Linked DNA regions of Homo sapiens: regions 1, 2, 3 and 5 are each linked to region 4. Evidence: promoter capture Hi-C in human tissues and cell types (Jung and others, 2019). All regions are on one chromosome and are shown on one strand. Each heading gives the region's core, a stretch centred on a gene start or on the middle of the fragment in contact. The rest is flanking DNA. Distances are from core to core; before and after follow the strand shown.

What was found. The method cuts DNA at HindIII sites, captures the fragments that hold promoters and counts their contacts. A contact is called where the count stands out against the background at its distance.
Region 1: a contact is called between a fragment that was not itself captured here and the fragment with the promoter of ADRA1B in region 4, in 1 of the 25 tissues and cell types used here (thymus).
Region 2: a fragment that was not itself captured here is called in contact with the fragment with the promoter of ADRA1B in region 4 in 2 of the 25 tissues and cell types used here (IMR-90 fibroblasts and mesendoderm cells).
Region 3: a contact is called between a fragment that was not itself captured here and the fragment with the promoter of ADRA1B in region 4, in 1 of the 25 tissues and cell types used here (IMR-90 fibroblasts).
Region 5: a fragment that was not itself captured here is called in contact with the fragment with the promoter of ADRA1B in region 4 in 1 of the 25 tissues and cell types used here (IMR-90 fibroblasts).

The regions. Positions count from the first base shown.
Region 1 is chr5:159,723,014-159,726,380 of GRCh38, reverse strand. No RefSeq gene overlaps it. Among named protein-coding and RNA genes, the nearest start is that of LINC01847, 150 kb to the left of the region's middle. The HindIII fragment of the contact is 3,105 bases long and covers 1-3,058 here.
Region 2 is chr5:159,673,454-159,677,168 of GRCh38, reverse strand. No RefSeq gene overlaps it. Among named protein-coding and RNA genes, the nearest start is that of LINC01847, 200 kb to the left of the region's middle. The HindIII fragment of the contact is 4,205 bases long and covers 1-3,715 here.
Region 3 is chr5:159,752,647-159,756,312 of GRCh38, reverse strand. The region is part of intron 1 of LOC105377688 (a long non-coding RNA gene); the gene reads left to right. Among named protein-coding and RNA genes, the nearest start is that of LINC01847, 120 kb to the left of the region's middle. The HindIII fragment of the contact is 5,614 bases long and covers 1-3,666 here.
Region 4 is chr5:159,914,609-159,917,934 of GRCh38, reverse strand. ADRA1B (adrenoceptor alpha 1B) reads right to left here and starts at 1,453. Exons shown (of 2, transcript NM_000679.4): 1 at 81-1,453. The coding sequence starts at 1,029. RefSeq lists enhancers at 263-879, 880-1,496 and a silencer at 1,560-1,619. The HindIII fragment of the contact is 5,190 bases long and covers 1-3,326 here.
Region 5 is chr5:159,694,806-159,698,484 of GRCh38, reverse strand. No RefSeq gene overlaps it. Among named protein-coding and RNA genes, the nearest start is that of LINC01847, 170 kb to the left of the region's middle. The HindIII fragment of the contact is 5,495 bases long and covers 1-3,679 here.

The sequences.
Region 1 (3,367 bases), core at 257-2,756, 190 kb after region 4:
GAGGAAAATTAGGCTAAGAGAAGTTATGTAACTTGGCCAAATTTACACAGCAATGAAATGGAGAGTCAAGATTAAAATCTGGGTCCTCTGGACTACCTGGTTATAAGCATTATAAAAACATTGTATTAGAAGCCAAGTGGACTTAGTTTTCTTCTTGGTAAAAATGCTGTTCATGATTCCTGCATAGTCGTGTCTCCTCCATACCATGAAGAGGCCTGGGTTCTGCAGATACCATGGAAACAAGATGTAAGAGTTAGCTTCATGGAGACTACAGTCTTGTAAAAGGAACAGACATGATTCAAACGACCCCGCTAATAAATGTAAAATCCCAATGGAAGCAGGTGTTCTGAATTGTTACCCAGGTGGGCCTGACCTAGCCTAAAAGTTCAGGGAAGACAACCTGAGGAAGTGATCTTTGAACTAAGACCTAAGAGTTTGGTGGAGTTAGCTAGATAAAGGGGAGAGGGGTGGTAGTGGGATGGGTGACGTTGAAGAGGTGAGGACAGCCCTGTGCAAAAGTCTTGTGGAAGGATGGAGCTTGGCTCTGAAATAAGGTCAGTGTGTTTGGGGCACAGGATGTTAGGATATGTGAAAGGAGGGGAAGCTGGAAAAGGACACAGATCAACCATGCAGGGGCTTAAAGGCCGTTTTAGGTCCTTAGGGACCTAATGTTTACCAGAGTTTATGGCTTATTTTTGCTGACTCCTGTCTTTCTCCTTCTTTCTCAAGAATCTGTTCCCTTAACCCTGCTGTCCCCTTCTCTTTCAAAAGAATGCAAAGACCTGCTCAAGGGGACAGCCAGCACATACGGGGCTCTGACCTGGTGTTTGGGTCCCCTGCAACCTGCTGCAGGCCAGTGAAACAGTGCGTTCCTTTCTAAGACAAGAAAGCCCTTGACATTCGTTCCTTGGCAAAAGAACCAGACCTGCCAGGAAGGTCCAGTGGCCAGGGCCTCGAATGCTGGAAAGGAAATTAGTTTCAGCTAAAACACAGAGCCGAATGTCAGGCCTTTACGCTCCCTGCCTCCGATGCTAATCTGGCTGGTGACAGGGGGCTATGAGAGACAAAAGGTTATGCAGGCACTTTGTATTGGATGCCCCCCTCCTTTTTTGTTTCTGATGGTGTGATGAAGGATTCGGGCTGCTGAGCTCCTGCATTAATCAGATTCATTCCATTTTGTTAGGGAGGGCTGTTTTCTGATGTCTCTGAGGAAATAAAGATGATAAATAGGGGGAAGTCTCATACTTTATTAGCGTGGATGGGCAGACAGATCCCAGTAGTAATTAATCCCAGGATGTTTACAAATTTTCTCTTCTTTGTCAACCTAGAGTCAGGGTTTGCTGTTGTTGGCATAAAGAAAGACTGGAAGCTGAACAATGATGTTCTGCTCATGGAATCAGAGAGATGGCAAAATATTAATTAATCATCCCATGATAGACAGTGGTGTCCTAAATGTCAAGACCCCCAAACTGTAATGAAAAGCAAGTTTCAGTTGCGCGGGACTCTCATAGGAAAGCTTAGAAAAACCCTAGCTTAAGCGTGTGTTAACAAAGACCCTTCTGATTGATATGGAAAAGTGGGGTACCTAGAATGTAAGGGTTCCCCACACAATGCAAAACAGCTATAAATACTTGGAGAAATTGAGTTGTTTCAGAACATTAAGAGTATTTCAGAGTATTAAAAGTATTAAGGGTCAAGCAGAAAATGCTTTTGTTCCAATCCTGGGATTACTCAACATCTTTCCAGAACATCCAGGTTCTCTTTCTGGCCTAGTAAGGACTGGAGGATGGCTAAAGGTCAGTTGTCCTGGTATGATTTGCATTGTTGTGAGGCTTCAGGAACACTGTTATGAGCTTTGATTCCTTTTATGCTCTGACTCAAGAACAGGAGATTTAAGCTTTGATCCTGCCCTCATAAATCATGAACCATGTGACCTTAGGTAAGTCGCTTCACCTGACTTCTCTGAATTTCAGTTCACTCAACTGCAAAATCAAGGAACTGTAGCCACGCAAAGCTTGAAGTTCCTACATGGCTGAATTTAAAGGTCTGTACTTACAGCAATTTTAGGATATTAGGCTGAGTGTATGATCAAACCAGGATAGACACCCCTCCTGCTTTGTAAATACATTTTGGATGTGCGGGGTATATTTGGGGAGTGGTGGTGGTGGGAGAGGGTTTACCTATTTAAAAAAAAATTTTAAACTTTAAAAATAAATAGCTAATAGCTAATGCACGTGAGGCTTAACACCTAGGTGATGGGTTGATAGGTGCAGCAAACCACCATGGCACACGTTTACCTATGTAACAAACCTGCACATCCTGCACATGTATCCTGGAACTTAAAATATTTCAGAAACCACCTATGAATTATTTGTAATTGTACACTGAATATATAGGTGTTTCTGAAGAGTTCTATAGTGCTTAAAACAGTTTGTTCTCTTGGATATTTTATACTCCCTGAAGTTTTTTGTTGTTGCTTTTTTGTACATATTCTCATTTTGTTTTCAGACACTTTATTCCTAAAACATGGAAAGGTCAGCATCAGCCAATAGATTGAGAATTTGCATTGTCTGAGTTAAGGAAAGCATCTTGCATTTTCTGGAGCACTGAGCATCTCGTCTTGAACCTTCTGAGTTCTGGGAAGCTCCAAATTCATTTGCTGAAGCAAGAAGGAAAAACAGTTCTTGGAGGGAATCTGAAAGAGAATGAGACTGCACTGCCAATGGTCTTCTGGTCAACCCTGGCCTGTGCGACTCCACATGGGTCCTGTCCATCACACTCTGCTCATGAGAAAATGCCCAAGAAATACCCACAAGTTTTAAGCAAAGAAACTCCGCTTCACTGGAGATATGCTGTTATTTGTGAGACCACCATGCCAACCTAATATTGCTGAACAAAAAGTAAGTAAAGGGAAACTTTAAACAAACTGGCTTAAAGACGCAAATTAGAAAAGACCATCATTTTCTCTCTTGGGACTCAACCTCCAATGTGAACTAAAACCTAGAGTTCACCATGCTAATTTTCTAAACCTATTGAACCAGATCAAAATCTCTGTATTTAAATATGCTGCCAGCTGAACCTAAACAGGGCCAATATTTCATTTGGTTCAAACCCATGTTGTTTTTTGTTGTTTTTTGTTTTTTTTTTGTTTTTCTGCTCACAGAATTACCTAAGTGATTTGGTAGCTGGCATTTTTTTACTCAACAAGCCTTTAGAAATGTGAATGTGTGTGTTTGTGTGTGTGTGTGTTGAAACATTGGTTAGAAATGTGTGTGTGTGTATTTGTGTTGAAACATTGGTTAGAAATGTGTGTGTGTGTGTTGAAACATTGGTTAGAAATGTGTGTGTGTGTGTGTGTGTTGAAACA
Region 2 (3,715 bases), core at 514-3,013, 240 kb after region 4:
GGAGGTTCACCTGAGGCCTTCAAGGTAGTACCTAGGTATCTGAACTAGGCCCAGAGACAGTTGACTGGGTGTTGGGGGTAGGGCATGTGACATACTGAGACACCAGCTAGGGCAGCCAAGGGAGTGCTGGCATCACTCTTTCCCTAATGTCAGGCTGCACAGCTCTTGGCTCCAAAAGAGACACCTTCCTTCTGCTTGAGGAAGGTTGTTCAGGGTCCACGGGCTCTTCACTTAGCGGGTAATGAATGCTGCCAGGACTGGGTTCTTTCTTTCAAGGCAGTGGGTTCCCTTCTGGCCCAGGTCATATCTAGAAATGTTATCTGAGAGCTAGGGCTTCGATGGGGGCCTCATGACCCCGACCAGTGCCCTATCCTGCTGTGGTTGAGCTGGTATGCAAGATGCAAGACAATGTCCTTCCCACTCTTTCCTCTCTTGTTCTCAAGCAGAAGGAAGGGGTCTTTTTTGGAGCCAAGAGCTGTGCAGCCTGGGGTTAGGGAAGGGGTGATGCCAGCACTCCCTTGGCTGCCCTAGCTAGTGTCTCAGTATGTCACACGCCCTGCCCCCAACACCCAGTCAACTGTCTCTGGGCCTAGTTCAGCACTAGGACTCACCTAAGAGTTGCAGTCCTTATGGCCTAGACTGCCTTTCAAGTTTACTTGGAGACACAGAGCACTGTAGTCCTTGGTGGCAAGGTTTGTGGGAACTCAAGTTTGGACCACTAGGATTGGAGATTCCCCTTTGGGTAAGGCTGGTTTTAAATGCTCCCTCCATGGACAAGTGTCAGCTGAGTTTGGTCCAGTTTTCCTTCGTGCTCCAACAGGACGGCGGTGATTTCAATGCCTCACAATTGTTGTGTTCTTTCTCCACCAGCAACCAGATATGCTCTCCATGCCATGCCACCACAGCTGCTCGGGGTGGCATTAGAGATTCAGGACTGTTTTTCAGTCTCTTCACTGGCTCTGTCAGCAATATGAAGTTAAAACCGGGTACTATGAGTGCTCACCTAAGATCTCAACAGACCAGGACAACAGACCAAATGAGACTAGATAAAGTGTAAGAAGTATAAACAGCATGTGCTGAACTTACAAAATAAACTAGCTTGTGCTTGTGGATTAGAAGCCTAAAGACAAATGTAAAATAAAAAAATAAACAAGAAAACATGAAGAAGGAGGATTCTGAAGTATTTTCTGAACTCCATGGACAAGAGGGCTATGAATGATTAGCAGTGTTAGCTATGGGCAAGGAATGGGAGGGTGCCAGTGGAGATACTGCATTTTTTGCTCTAAGTCAATGGTGGGACCCTGCTGTTTCCAAAAGTGTGTATATTCATAAAACGTGTAGTAGTCACCCGGTTTTTTCTTGCTCAGTGTCCATCCCTATACTCTTTTTCTGGTAAGTGAAACCTGTTTTTGTTTGGATATATAAGCCTTCACCACTCCCCACACAAATAATTCCAGCGTTGCTGACTCTACTACCAATTTGGTGTACAGGAGAGGACCAGGTTTGCCCTACCAGTGCACCACATTCCCATGGCCACCATGATTGTTTCAAGGGTGATCAGGTGGTCCCAGCAGAATCAATGAAATGAAATTCTGAGATTTTTGCTATGTTTTAAAAAAGGAAATCTCACTATGACTATTCAGCATGGTTATTGAGAGAATAAGATAAAACTGCGGAGCTGCTTGGCAATCCTTTTAGCACTATGAGAGGAAAGAAAGCTTGATAATAAAACCAAAGAAGGGAAAATAAAGACAACAGATATTGAATCTGGTGATGTTATTTGAGCAACTAGATCTAGCTGTGCCTAAAGCCTTTCATTTATATACATCAGGTAAATTTTATCTTTTTGCTTAAGACATTTTGTGTTTGGTTTTCTGACCCTTTTAACCAAATAATGAATTTCTAGGGAATGAATATTCCCTAGTGAATATTTGTGATTTAATAAAAGTAAAAAAGGCCACATTCAAGATGGTGATGATCTCATTGTTTTCTGTGCTGGTCACAAAGGTTAAAAAGGAGTTTTTCGTTGGAAGAGGAAAAGACTATTATTATAGGAGCCAGAATTTATTGAATGCTTACTATATGCTTGGCACTGTGCTCATTAAACCCTCATTACAACTCTATGTTCTATGTTGAGATAGAAGTTAATATTATTCCCTCATATTACAGATTAGAAATTGAAGCTTACAAGGATTAAAAATTTGTCTTAAGGTCACACAATTGATGAGTGAAGGAGCCAAATTTGAATTCAATATTAAATCTCATGTTCTTGACTTTGAAACTGAACTCTTTTCTCTACTTAAAGCTTTTCCAAGATAAAATTCAGAGAAATTCCTACTTTATCAATAACTATCTGGATATTTGAAAAATAGTTTTATTTTATTGCTTCACACACACACACACACACACACACACACACACACACACACAGAGAGAGAGACAGAGAGAGAGAGAGAGAAAATAAACACCGACACACCTTTCTGAGGAAGGTGGAATCTGATAGCAGAAAGTTTATTAGCTGAGGCCAGTGATAGCTTTGGTATGAAAACTTGTGACCAATGACACTGTGTGCCACAGTAGAATTACTCATCATAATTTTTTAAAGTGAGGAATTTGGAGGGAAGGTATTTGCAGTACCTAGCCTCCCCAACTTCTGTATTTTTATAGAGAATAATCTAGAAGAGCATAGAAGCCTGGGAGACTGGGTACTGCAAACAAGAAATGAAGAACAAAAGAATGCCCTTCACCTCTTCTCTTACTTCCCTTTGTTCTCCAACCCAACTTGGAAAGAACAGAGATAAAAGGATCTAAGAGATGAAGAAGTATCTCAGGACTACACAGTAGCCATTATTGCTGTGCACCAAACATTTCTAGTTCTCCTCTCAGGTACAGGCAGAATTATACTTCACCACCTCCTTTGAAGCTAGGTGAAACCGTGTTATTGGCTTTTGTCAACGATGGGAGCAGAAGTGATGAGAAGAGACATTTGTTACTTCTGGATCTTGTTTCCTTTCCCTTGCCAAGTTGATCATGGCAAGGGAAAAGACAATGGAGTCCCTATCAGCCTTATCCCTGAACAAGCTCGTTGAGCAGCATCTTCCTGTCAACCCATTTTTGAATATTTAGAGCAAGGGAGAAATAAACACTTGTTTTGCTAAGGCTTTGAGATTTGGAAACGTTTGTTACTGCAACATTACCTAACCTCAACTGACTGATATAGAATATTTCAGGTTGTCTGCTATGGTGTGTTAGTCGGTTCTTGCATTTCTATAAAGGAATATCTGAGGCTGATTTATAAAGAAAAGAGGTTTAACTGTGTCATGGTTCTGTAGGCTGTTCAGGAAGCATAATGTTGACATCTGCTTGGCTTCTGGTGAGGCCCCAAGGAGCTTTGACTCATGGTGGAAGGTGAAGCAGAAGCAGGTGTGTCACATGGTGAGGTGAGAGTGAGCAATAGAGAGAGAGGAATAGAGAGAGAGAGAGAGGAAGTACCACACTCTTAAACAACCAGATCTTGCATGAACTCAGAGCAAGAACTCACTCATTACCACAAGACAGGCACTAAGACATTCATGAGAGATCTGCCTCCATAACACAAACGCTTCTCCCCAGGCCCCAGCTCCAATACTGGGGATTACCTTTCAACAAGAGATTTGGAGAAGACAAACATCCAAACCATATTATTTCACCTTTTGCCCCCTAAATCTCATGTCCT
Region 3 (3,666 bases), core at 65-2,564, 160 kb after region 4:
TTTATGCACATGAGATTGCCTTGCCTTGGTACTCAGAATAGTGCATAGTTCCAATGTCAGAGGGAATTAAACTTTCTGCTCCCCATTTTTCTTCTGCCAAATGACTGGATGATGTGTAAGAGCTCTTCTGACTCTAAAGTCCTCTGTTTCTAAAAATCTTATACTAAAGAATCAAATAGTCCCTTACCCTAAAAGTACCCTCTAGCTAAAGAGGAAACTTTAAGTTTGTCAGAGGTTTTATTTGGCTTGCCTTTCCTCGACCCAGCCAACTACCAGGGGCAGAGAAAAGACTTGTTCAAATAAACCTAAGAAACCTATAGGAACCAAAGTGCACGGTAGATCATCTCATCATCCATTAGCAACACTGTTTGAGCTTACAAAAAGAGTGACGCTTCACAGAGAAAGGTCAGGATATTCTCACTTCACCTGGAGGAGTTTAGCCACCTGGAATAATAAGCTTTGCTGGTGAGATGTGAGATCTGACAGTGAGTGAGGAAATTGTTGAAGAGGAGGCATTGAAAATGCCCGGAGACTTCCCAGGTGTCACCTGCTGCCTTGTAAATGTGTGAAATCCTTGGAAGGGTGTCTGGCAGAGCCCCAGAACCTACCACCATATGTCATTGACTGTTTCACAGAGTGGAAGAAGGTATAGGCATGTCTGAACAATGTTCAAGTGATCAATTATATCAGTTAGGATTGTGAGTGGCTGCAAGGTACAGAGACCAGAGGAGAATGTCTTATACAAGACAGGGTTTATTTTATCAGGTAATCATACATCTGCAAGTAGGCAGACACTGCTTCACACTGGTGCCAATGGCATGGGCATTTCTGTTGTGAATCAGTCTAGAAGAAGGTTGGTATGCAAAGATTTAGTAGGTGGCAAATTGAAATGTAGACTTAGACCCAAAGACTTCAAAGGTGCATTCCAAATTTAACTTACAGTTTGGGGGAGGGGTGGTTTACCAGATGCCTAATCTAAATACATAGAAATTTAAAATTAAACAGAGTTAGCCGGGCACATTGGCTCACGCCTGTAATCCCAGCACTTTGGGAAGTCCAGGAAGGCAGATCACTTGAGGTCAGGAGTTTGAGACAGGCCTGGCCAGCATGGTGAAACCCCATCTCTACTAAAAATACGAAACTTAGCCAGGCGAGGTGGCAGGCACCTATAATCCCAGCTACTCGGGAGGCTGAGGCACAAGGATCACTTGAACCTGGGAGGCAGAGGTTGCAGTGAGGCAAGATCACGCCACTGCACTCCAGCTTGGATGATAGACTGAGACTCAGTCTCAAAAAGAAAAAAAAAATTAATTAATTAAACAGAGTTAATTGGTCACGTATCTAAGTACCTGCCTTGGTTCTAGTCTGGCTTGGGTTTGTAAGTAATAGAACAAAATACAAGACACAGTCCAAGTTTAAAAGTAAATGAACTTAATATACATAGAAAGGAGATTATTACATGTAGGGAAAGGCTGGTAAAAAAAATCATGACAATCTTTCTTCTATCTTTGTACAAATCTCTATTATTTCTACTAGAATAGCCATCACCCTCCTGCATCCCTCTAGTTATTCTAGTCTCCACACAGCAGTCAAAGAGATTTTTAATAAATATTAATTAGATATCCCTCCTATGCCTAAAACCCTCCAATACTTCCATTGAATTTAGTGCAAAATCCAAACTAATTCCTCTGGTGTACTTGATAGGCCCACCCTTCCCCTTCAACCCTATCTAGCACCAGTGTCCCCTTACCTCTCTGCTCTAGCCACACAGGCCTTCTTTCTGCTCACATCAGGCTAGTTTCTGCCCCACGGCCTTTGCACTTATCATATACTTCACCTGGGCCACTCTTCCCTCAGAGGAAAGGTGGAGTCCTTTCAATGCACATGTCACTTTTCCAGAGTTCTTTTCCCTGATCACCCTATCTGAAGTAACCCTCCTCATCCTCCTGTTTATTACATTCCATTATCCTGTGTTTAAAATAATTACTGTCACCACCTGAATGTATCATATTTATTTGTGGTTTTTCATCTATGGTAGACTGTAAGCTCTATGAGGGTATAGCCTGGCACATGTATACACCCAGTAAGTACAGATGCTCCTCGACTTACAGTGGTGTTACGGCCTGATAAACCCATTGTCAGTTGAAAATAGTGTTAGTCAAAAATACATTTAAAGAGAACACTTCTACACTGTTGGTGGGAATGTAAACTAGTACAACCGTTATGGAAAACAGTGTGGAGATTCCTTAAATAACTAAAAGTAGAACTACCATTTGATCCAGCAATCCCACTACTGGGTATCTACCCAGAGGAAAAGAAGTCACTATACAAAAAAGATACGTGCACATGCATATTTATACTAGCACAATTCACAATTGCAAAAATATGGAACCAGCCCTAATGCCCATCAATCAACGAGTGGATAAAGAAACTGTGCTATATATATATGATGGAATACTACTCAGCCATAAAAAGGAACGAATTAATGGCATTCACAGCAACCTAAATGGAATTGGAGACTATTATTCTAAGTAAAGTAACTCAAGAATGAAAAACCAAACCTCACATGTTGTCATTCATAAATGGGAGCTAAGTTATGAGGATGCAAAGGCATAAGAATGATACAACGAACTTTGGGGACTCAGGGGAAAGTGTGTGGGGGGGTGAGGGATAAAAGACTACAAATTGGGTTCAGTGTATACTGCTCGGGTGATAGGTGCACCAAAATCCTACAAGTCACCACTGAAGAACTTACTCTTGTAACCAAAAGCCACCTGTTCCCCCAAAACTTATCGAAATAAATTTTTTTTAAAAAAATATGTTTAATATACCTAACCTATCCAATGAATATCACAGCTTAGCCTTGACAACCTTAAACATACACAGAACACTTACATGAGCCTAGAATTGGGCAATATCATCTAACACAAAGCCTATTTCATATTTCATAATAAAGTGTTGACTATCTTAGGTAATTTATCGGATATAGCACACTGAAGCTTATCAGTTGTTTACCCTTCTAATGGTACATCTGACTGGGAGCTATGGCTCACTGATGCCCAGCATCATGAGAGAGTATCATCCTGCATATTGCTAGCCTGGGAAAAGATCAAAATTCAAAATTCAAAGTACGGTTTGTACTGCATGTGTAGTGCTTTTACACCATCGTAAAGTCGAAAAATTGTAAGTTGAATCATCATTCACTGGGGACCGTCTGTATGTGCTAAATAAATAGACAATCAAGTGTTTTAGGTTTTCTAATCATTCAGAAAAGAGGGATATTGTTACAAATTCATGAGTCAGGGAGCTCACTGTGGCAGAGAGGGGGATGGGCTGGGCTCAGAAGAAAGAGAAGGATTTGGATTGGGGGGTACCCAGGGGAAGCCATGGGTGTGGTTGGGGTTGGAGAGGCAGGGTCTTCGTGGTGATTCTGCTTCTTAACTGACAGAAAAGAGGGCCCACCTCTCTGTCCCTGGCAGATCACAGAGAGACCAGCCTTTCTTAAGGAAATAGGACCAAGGGCATGGAAGCAAAATACCCAGATGACTTCATCAAAAGAAAACATGCGACTCTTGCATAGACCAAAATAAACTCCCTAGACTGACGGGGTGGGGCCAAGGGACAGTTCTTGAGCTGAAGAGAAACTCCAGGACCTTCCAAGGCATT
Region 4 (3,326 bases), core at 204-2,703:
CAAAAAACTTTAGAGTAAGCTCATCAGTAAACCCAAGGTCCAAAAATGCCCAGTCCCCCTGCTGCTAGTCCCCAACTTACCAAGCGGTAGAGCGATGAAGAAGGGTAGCCAGCACAAGATGAACATACCGACCACAATGCCCAACGTCTTAGCTGCTTTCTTTTCCCTGGAGAACTTAAAAAGTTTGACAGCTATGGAACTCCTGGGGTTGTGGCCCTTGGCCTTGGTACTGCTAAGGGTGTCCTCGTGAAAGTTCTTGGAATGGATCCTCAGGGTCAGCTCCTTGGAGTTGGACATCTCCTTCATGACTCCTGCCTCTAGGTTCTTGGTGGTTCTCTTGGCCACTATATAGACACGGCAGTACATGACTAGAATGACCGCCAGAGGGATGTAGAAGGAGCCCAGAGAGGAGAAGAGGGCATAGAAGGGTTCTTCGGTGACCCCGCACTCCTTGTCATCGTTGGGTGCCGGCTCCTTCCACCCAAGGAGAGGCCCGATGGAGATGACGGTGGACAAGACCCAGACACTGAGCAGCGCCAAGATGGCCTTCCTCCGGGTGACCAGCGTGGGATACTGCAGAGAGTAGCGCACCCCGATGTAGCGATCGATGGAGATGGCGCACAGGCTCAGAATGGACGCTGTGCAGCACAGGACATCCACGGCTGCCCAGATGTCACAGAAGATCCGCCCCAGCACCCAGTAGCCGAGCACCTCTAGGGCCGCTGAGAAGGGCAGGACGGTGAAGCTCAACAGCAGGTCGGCCATGGCCAGGTTGACAATGAAGTAGTTGGTGGGCGTCCGCAGGTGCCGGTTGCAGGCCACAGACAAGATGACTAGGATGTTGCCCACGATGGCAAAGAGGATGAAGGCGCCCAGCACCAGGCCCACAGAGATGGCCCTGGTGATGTCCAGCTGGGGCAGTGTGGAGTTGCTCGAGGTCTGGTTGGGGCCAGTGAAGTTGGCATTTTTCAACTCTCCCCAGTGGGCAGGTGCTGATGTGTTGTGGCCGGTGTCCAGGTCGGGATTCATCTTAGAGTCCGCCCTCCATAGCCAGGGGGATGATTGGGCTCGGAAGGGCTGCGGCGAAGGCTCCTCAGCTGCCCTGAAACTTTGCTTCCCCCGTGGTCTTCTTCCCAGAGGCGCCCTCCTGGCGAGGAGTCATCTCCCCCGGGCAGCCCAGCCCGGCAGCACGTCTCCTGCCTGCACCGAGTCGCTCGCTCGCCTGTCAGAGGGAGGAGGAGGAGGAGAGGGGACGAGGCGGCAGCTCCAAGTTTAATGGTCCACGTCAGGCGCGCCTGGCCGGGCTCGCGGGGGAGCGGCGGGGAGGAGGGGGCGGCAGGGCCGGGGGCGCCCGGCGGTGCCCAGCTCGCTCGGGTCTGCGGACCGCGGCGCGTCCTCCGCCCAGCGAGCGCCGAAGAGGGTCTGCTTTCAATGAGCCGCTTCTGGGCTGACTGCACGGCGGTGACATCAGGCGGGGGAGCCCGGCGCCCTGACTCCGCGCGGCACTAGGGGGCAATGCGGGTCCAGCCAAGGCGCCCGCAGCCCCGACGCCGCCACCCCGCAAGCCGGGAAGCCAGCCGCGTCCCCCGCCGCTCCCAGGGCGCGCCCTCTGCGGGGGGCGGGGCGGGGGCAGGGGCCGCGAGGGCGGGACCTGGGCGTGGAGATCGCGGGTCACCCACCCCTAGGCGGCCCGCTGGGGTTATTTTCCCCGCTAGTCACTCTTCCGTGTCAAAGGTGGGTTGGGGGCTGCTTACCTTTAATAGGGGGCTCCCGGAGTGGGCCCCGGATTTAACGGGATATGCAACTTGTCCAGCACCTAAAAGAGGGAAAGAGAATTCTAGGATTGGGCAGGTGGGAGGGACTTGAGTCGGATCTGAGGCCAGCCCTCATCCTTCATCTGGCTCCCCTCGCCCCGTGCAAACTCTTTGGCCCCAGTAAAATCTGGCTTCTCTTCATCCTTTCATTCGCTCAGGCATTCACTCATTTATTCAGCCGATTCTTACGGAGTCTCCACTCTCTGCCCTGGCTCTGGGCGCTGTGAACATAGCAACTGAACAAAATAGACGGACTCCTGCCCTATAGGAGCGTAGCTTCTCCCGACAGAAGACAGACAGTATACTAAATAAGCAAATGATGAGGTGTGTAATGTGATGACAGGTGTTAGGCTGAAAATAAAGTAAGGAGGGGGAAATGCAGTGGGGTGTTTGTGGGGTGGATTTGAAATGTTAAGTGGGTGCTTGGGATGTCACTGAAGTGATATTTGAGGAAACATGAAGGGAATTGAGGGAGGAAGCTAGCTGGCTATCTGGGAGTGGGGGTGAGGGAGGTCAGAGACCTGGGGAAGGGACGTAGAGGATCTTGGTTATTTGTTGAGTTTTTTCCTTTCTGTCTGATATCCATGTTGGACATTCAGTCACAGGGACGCACTCCCAAAGGTGGGTGAATGGTACTTAGAAGAGAAAGTATGGGCCAAGAAAGAAAGAAAGAAAAAGCCAAAGAACTTTATGTTAGTTCACATTTATCCAACATTTATTTTGTCCTAGACAGTGTGCTGAGTTCTTTTTGCATTTTCTCATGACTCTCATGAGAGAAAGAATACACTCTTCACCATTTCTATTTCATGGATGAGACACCAAATTATGGGGAAGTTTAGCTGTTCGCCCAAGTTCACAAAGGCATGGAGGAGAGCTGCTGGGAACTGAACTCAACTGTGGGGTCTCTCCCAAAGTTGGGTACTCAGCTACTGTGTCATACTTTTCCCCCGGGGCAAGGTAGGGGATGGAACCACTGTTATAGATGGAGCTGCCTTTTGAGTAGTTAATTTTGGGGCCTGAGCCACTGGTGCTGGGCAGGGACTCCCATGAATTGAGCGCTTACTGATAGCCATGCATTTACTCAGTTTCTTTGAGACTTTACAATTCTTTGAGAGAAGCATAACCATTGTTCATTGAGAGATGAGAAACAGTGGTTCAGAGAGAGTCAGTTGATTCCTGAGGTCATAGGCTAGCAAATATATGGCAGAGCAATGGGCAGTGGCAGCTGGAGATTGAAAAGTAAAGCCTGATACCTTCTTTTACTCCAGTTCACAAGCCTGCATCTTGGGTTTCTCACCTTCTGCTCTTGATACTTGTTATAACTTGATATTCACGGGTGGGGAAAACAGAAGTCACTCAGGATGACTTACATCTAAGCTTCTCAACCTAGAGGTAAGCTCTTAACCTCTTTTTATTTTTATTTTTTGAGAAGGGAGGCAGGTGGTTATCATACACGTATCGAAGGTTTTAATTTACTCCCAGCAAAGTGCACAGACTCCACACATGTGCAAA
Region 5 (3,679 bases), core at 767-3,266, 220 kb after region 4:
CCTTTCTCCACTCACTTCCCAAGAGACTTGTGAAGATCATGTAAGATGATTAATGTGACAAGGGTTTGGAAAAAATTTAAAATGGCTATACAAATGTGAAGCATTTTTGGCATTATTAACAAGGTCTCCATAGGCAGAATAAATTAGAAGAAGAGAAAAGTTTCCCAGATGATTTTGGCCAAAATTCCAGCTCCTGAGGAAAATAGCATCCCAGTGGGCTGCCTCCGCAGATCAGATTTGCAGCATAATTGCCCAAACCTCCTTTCTCCTGTGATTACAGTTAGAAATTAGCTTCCAAAGAAGAAACAATTAAAACTAAGAAAGGAGATGAAAAGGTCTTTTTGTTTTCTTTTGAAGTTCCAGATTCCTGAACATGGCAGATTTTGCAAAAACAATCTTACTTGTCCTTCTAATGTTTATTCACATTTCCTCCAGCTTAGAAGGACAAATGGGGCCAAGCAGCTGGTGATTGACAGTGAGAGGTGTCCTTTGACTTGAATTTAAAATGCAAACTGATGTAAAGGAAATCAATAAGTACATTTTTGCTACAAAAATAGTTTCATGTCATTTTTCTGGTGGTGGCTGTTGAACACAAAGAATTTCAAGGTGGACAAGAAAGTAGGTAGGATGTTTCCTAAAGAAAAGCCCTACATAGAGAAACAAAGGCCAACTTACTCCTGCAAGCAAGATCATGAACATGTTTAGAGAGAGGTACCCTTGGATCTGGTGATCAGTGACTCAGGGAGCAGCTGGTGAGGGAGGAGGTGGCTCTAGGCAGTGTTGGGAAGGCCTCAGTCTCTTCACATATTTATTATACTTGGTAACAATATCAATCCAGAGCTGAGAACTAGGTCCATGGACACCCTTAGATCAAAGACATGAAAAGGTCCTCTTTCTTTTCTGAGCCTCACCAACCTCAGAAGGTGTACCTCTTCCTAGAGGGAAGAGCACATAAGAGACAAAAAGGGGCCTGAAAGTGACCCTCCCACAGCTTCAGACAAGACAGAAGGTCCAGGTGAAAACAGGGGCAGGAGGGAAGTGGAGGGAGAGAATAGTCCTATTCTGAACAGTAGCACTTCAGGAACTATGGCACTCGGCAGAGGTGACTTTCTTTAACTTTTTTTAAAAATCAAGGTAAAACTAATATCATATAAAATTAACCCTCTTAAAGTGTGCATTTTGGTGGCGGTTTAATACATTCGCAATGTTGTGCAACCATCAGCTCTAATTCTCAACATTTCCATCACCCCCAAGGGAGAATATACCTATGAAGCAGTCACTCTCATTCCACCCTCCCCAGAGGCAATGTTTTTACTGGGGACCTTTCTGCCCTCCCTACATTGTTCCCCAAATCATACTCAGGACTCAATAGATGCCTTTTCAAGGCTGGTTGCAAACCCTCCATCCGTGTGTCTGTGTAGACTCAGCGTTTGCTTCTCTGGGGACTAGGGTAAAGTTGGCTTAGGCCACAGGAGACTCCCAAGACTCTGTGCTGAGTGCTGTCACAGGTGCCTTTGCCCAAAGGCCCACATCTCTAACAAAGGCATGCCATGCCTTTGGGGAGGCATCTGCAGGTGCTTGGCAAGAAGCATTCATAGCACATTTAAGGCTGGCTCTGGATCCTACTCAGGAGTGGAAGCATTTTTTTTTTTGATCAGGAAGAAATTTTCAGCTGGATACAAGCCCCTTGCTCCAAATCAGTGTTTCAAGTAATGCCCGAAAGCTTCTTAAGGGACAGTGTCCCATCTCTCATTATGTCCCCAGAAGGCCAGCACAATATAGCACAGTCAATGTCTGTGGAATTGCCCACTAGGAGGTAAAGGGTCAGTTAGCATGCTGGTAAGAGTCTGTCTGGAGAGTCAGCCAGAGCTGGGTTGGATTCTCGCTTCTGCCCCTGTAATATGGATCTCTGGTTTATCTGACCTCACTGTCCTCATTTGCAAAAGAAAGTTACAATAACACTTATCTTTTAGGACTATTGTGAGTATTTATGAGTCAATAGTAGATGTAAACAAAGTGCTTAATACAGTTGCTCCAATGTTGGAGACCTCCACATACCACAGGAAAAGTATTGTCTCACTTGTAGGACTGAAAAAGAGGGATAGAAGACACATGATGTTGTTGGAAAAGTAAGGAACAATCTTGGCTGGAGAGACAAGCAGGGTCAACTGGAAGACAGCAGGGTGGTTTCAGGCCAACTAACAGGAAGCAAGACATCACTTGTGCTTCTCGTTTGCTGAGTCCCAGAGATGATGCTTTCAAAAGCCTCTTCAGGCAGCTGGGGGCCAAAGAACAAAACTGATGGGGTCTGTCCAAACAACCAGCCTAGCCTTTAGTCCCATGTGTTCTTGCAAAACCAGAAAAATGAACTTTCTCGACTAACCTCCTACAATAGGACTCAAATGTCCCACAAAGGTCCTGTCCCTTGGCATCCCAGATGAAGGTCCCAGCCTGGGGTGTGAGAACAGAGTCTGTATTAAGCAGCAAGAGGCAGATTCCCAAATACCAGGAGGAGCTTGTTTTAATATGTGGAGTTACATTCTCCGCTCTGCATATCTGCATTCCCATGGGAGGCGGGACACATTTCTCCCAATCCATGTATGCCTCTGAATTCTTCCTACAGCAAGCTAAGCAAACTGTTGACATGAAACAAACTGTTTCTGCTTCACCCAAGTAGATTGTTTTCCGGGGCCCTGGTGCTCCCTGAAACTTGCCATGTTGGGCAAAGAAAAATATTCTATTTTGGAGCTATGATGGATTTAGTTAAGATAGGTCAAAGTTCTTTCCCTTCTTTGTTAGAGAATTGCTTATGTCTTGATTGAAATTTGTTAAATTTGGGTAGGAGCAGTTTTACCAAGTCTATCAAAAATAGAAAAAAAAAGAGAAGATATAGTATCACTTTAATGTATGTGTGTGTGAGTTTACATTTACCTTGAACTTTTTCTCATTCTAAAATGCCAACCAGTTCTGTTGTTTATAATCTAACTGGAAGCAGCTGAAGAGTGATGTTTTGAGACACACCAAGAACTGTTATTATTAGCCCCTCCACTCAACATTAATCAAACAGACATGGGATGCCTTTATGAGAGGCATGAAACTTGGAGAATAAATGAAACTTAGATGCCAGAGTCAAGCTTGAATATCTTTTTTTAATTTTTAATTTTGTGGGTACAAAGCAGGTATATATATTTATGGGGTACATGAGAGGTTTTTTTCTCCTTTAAAATATTTCAATAGGTTTTTGGAGAACAGATGGTGTTTGGTTATATGAATACATTCTTCAGTGGTGATTTCTGAGATTTTGGTCCACCCATCACCTGAGCAGTGTACACTGTACCCAGTGTATAATCTTTTATCCCTCACCCCCTCCCACCTTTTCCCCCAAGTCCCCCAAATCCATTGTATCATGCCTATGCCTTTGCATCCCACTTATGAAAGAGAACATATGATGTTTGGTTTTCCATTCCTGAGTTACTTCACTTAGAATAACTGTCTCCAATTTCATCCAGGTTGCTGCGAATGCCATTATTTTTTTCCTTTTTATGGCTGAGTAGTATTCCATGGTGTGGGTGTATATATATATATATATATATATATATATATATACATACACACACCATTTTGTTTATCCACTTGTTGATTGATGGGCATTTGGGCTGGTTCCACATTTTTGAAGTTG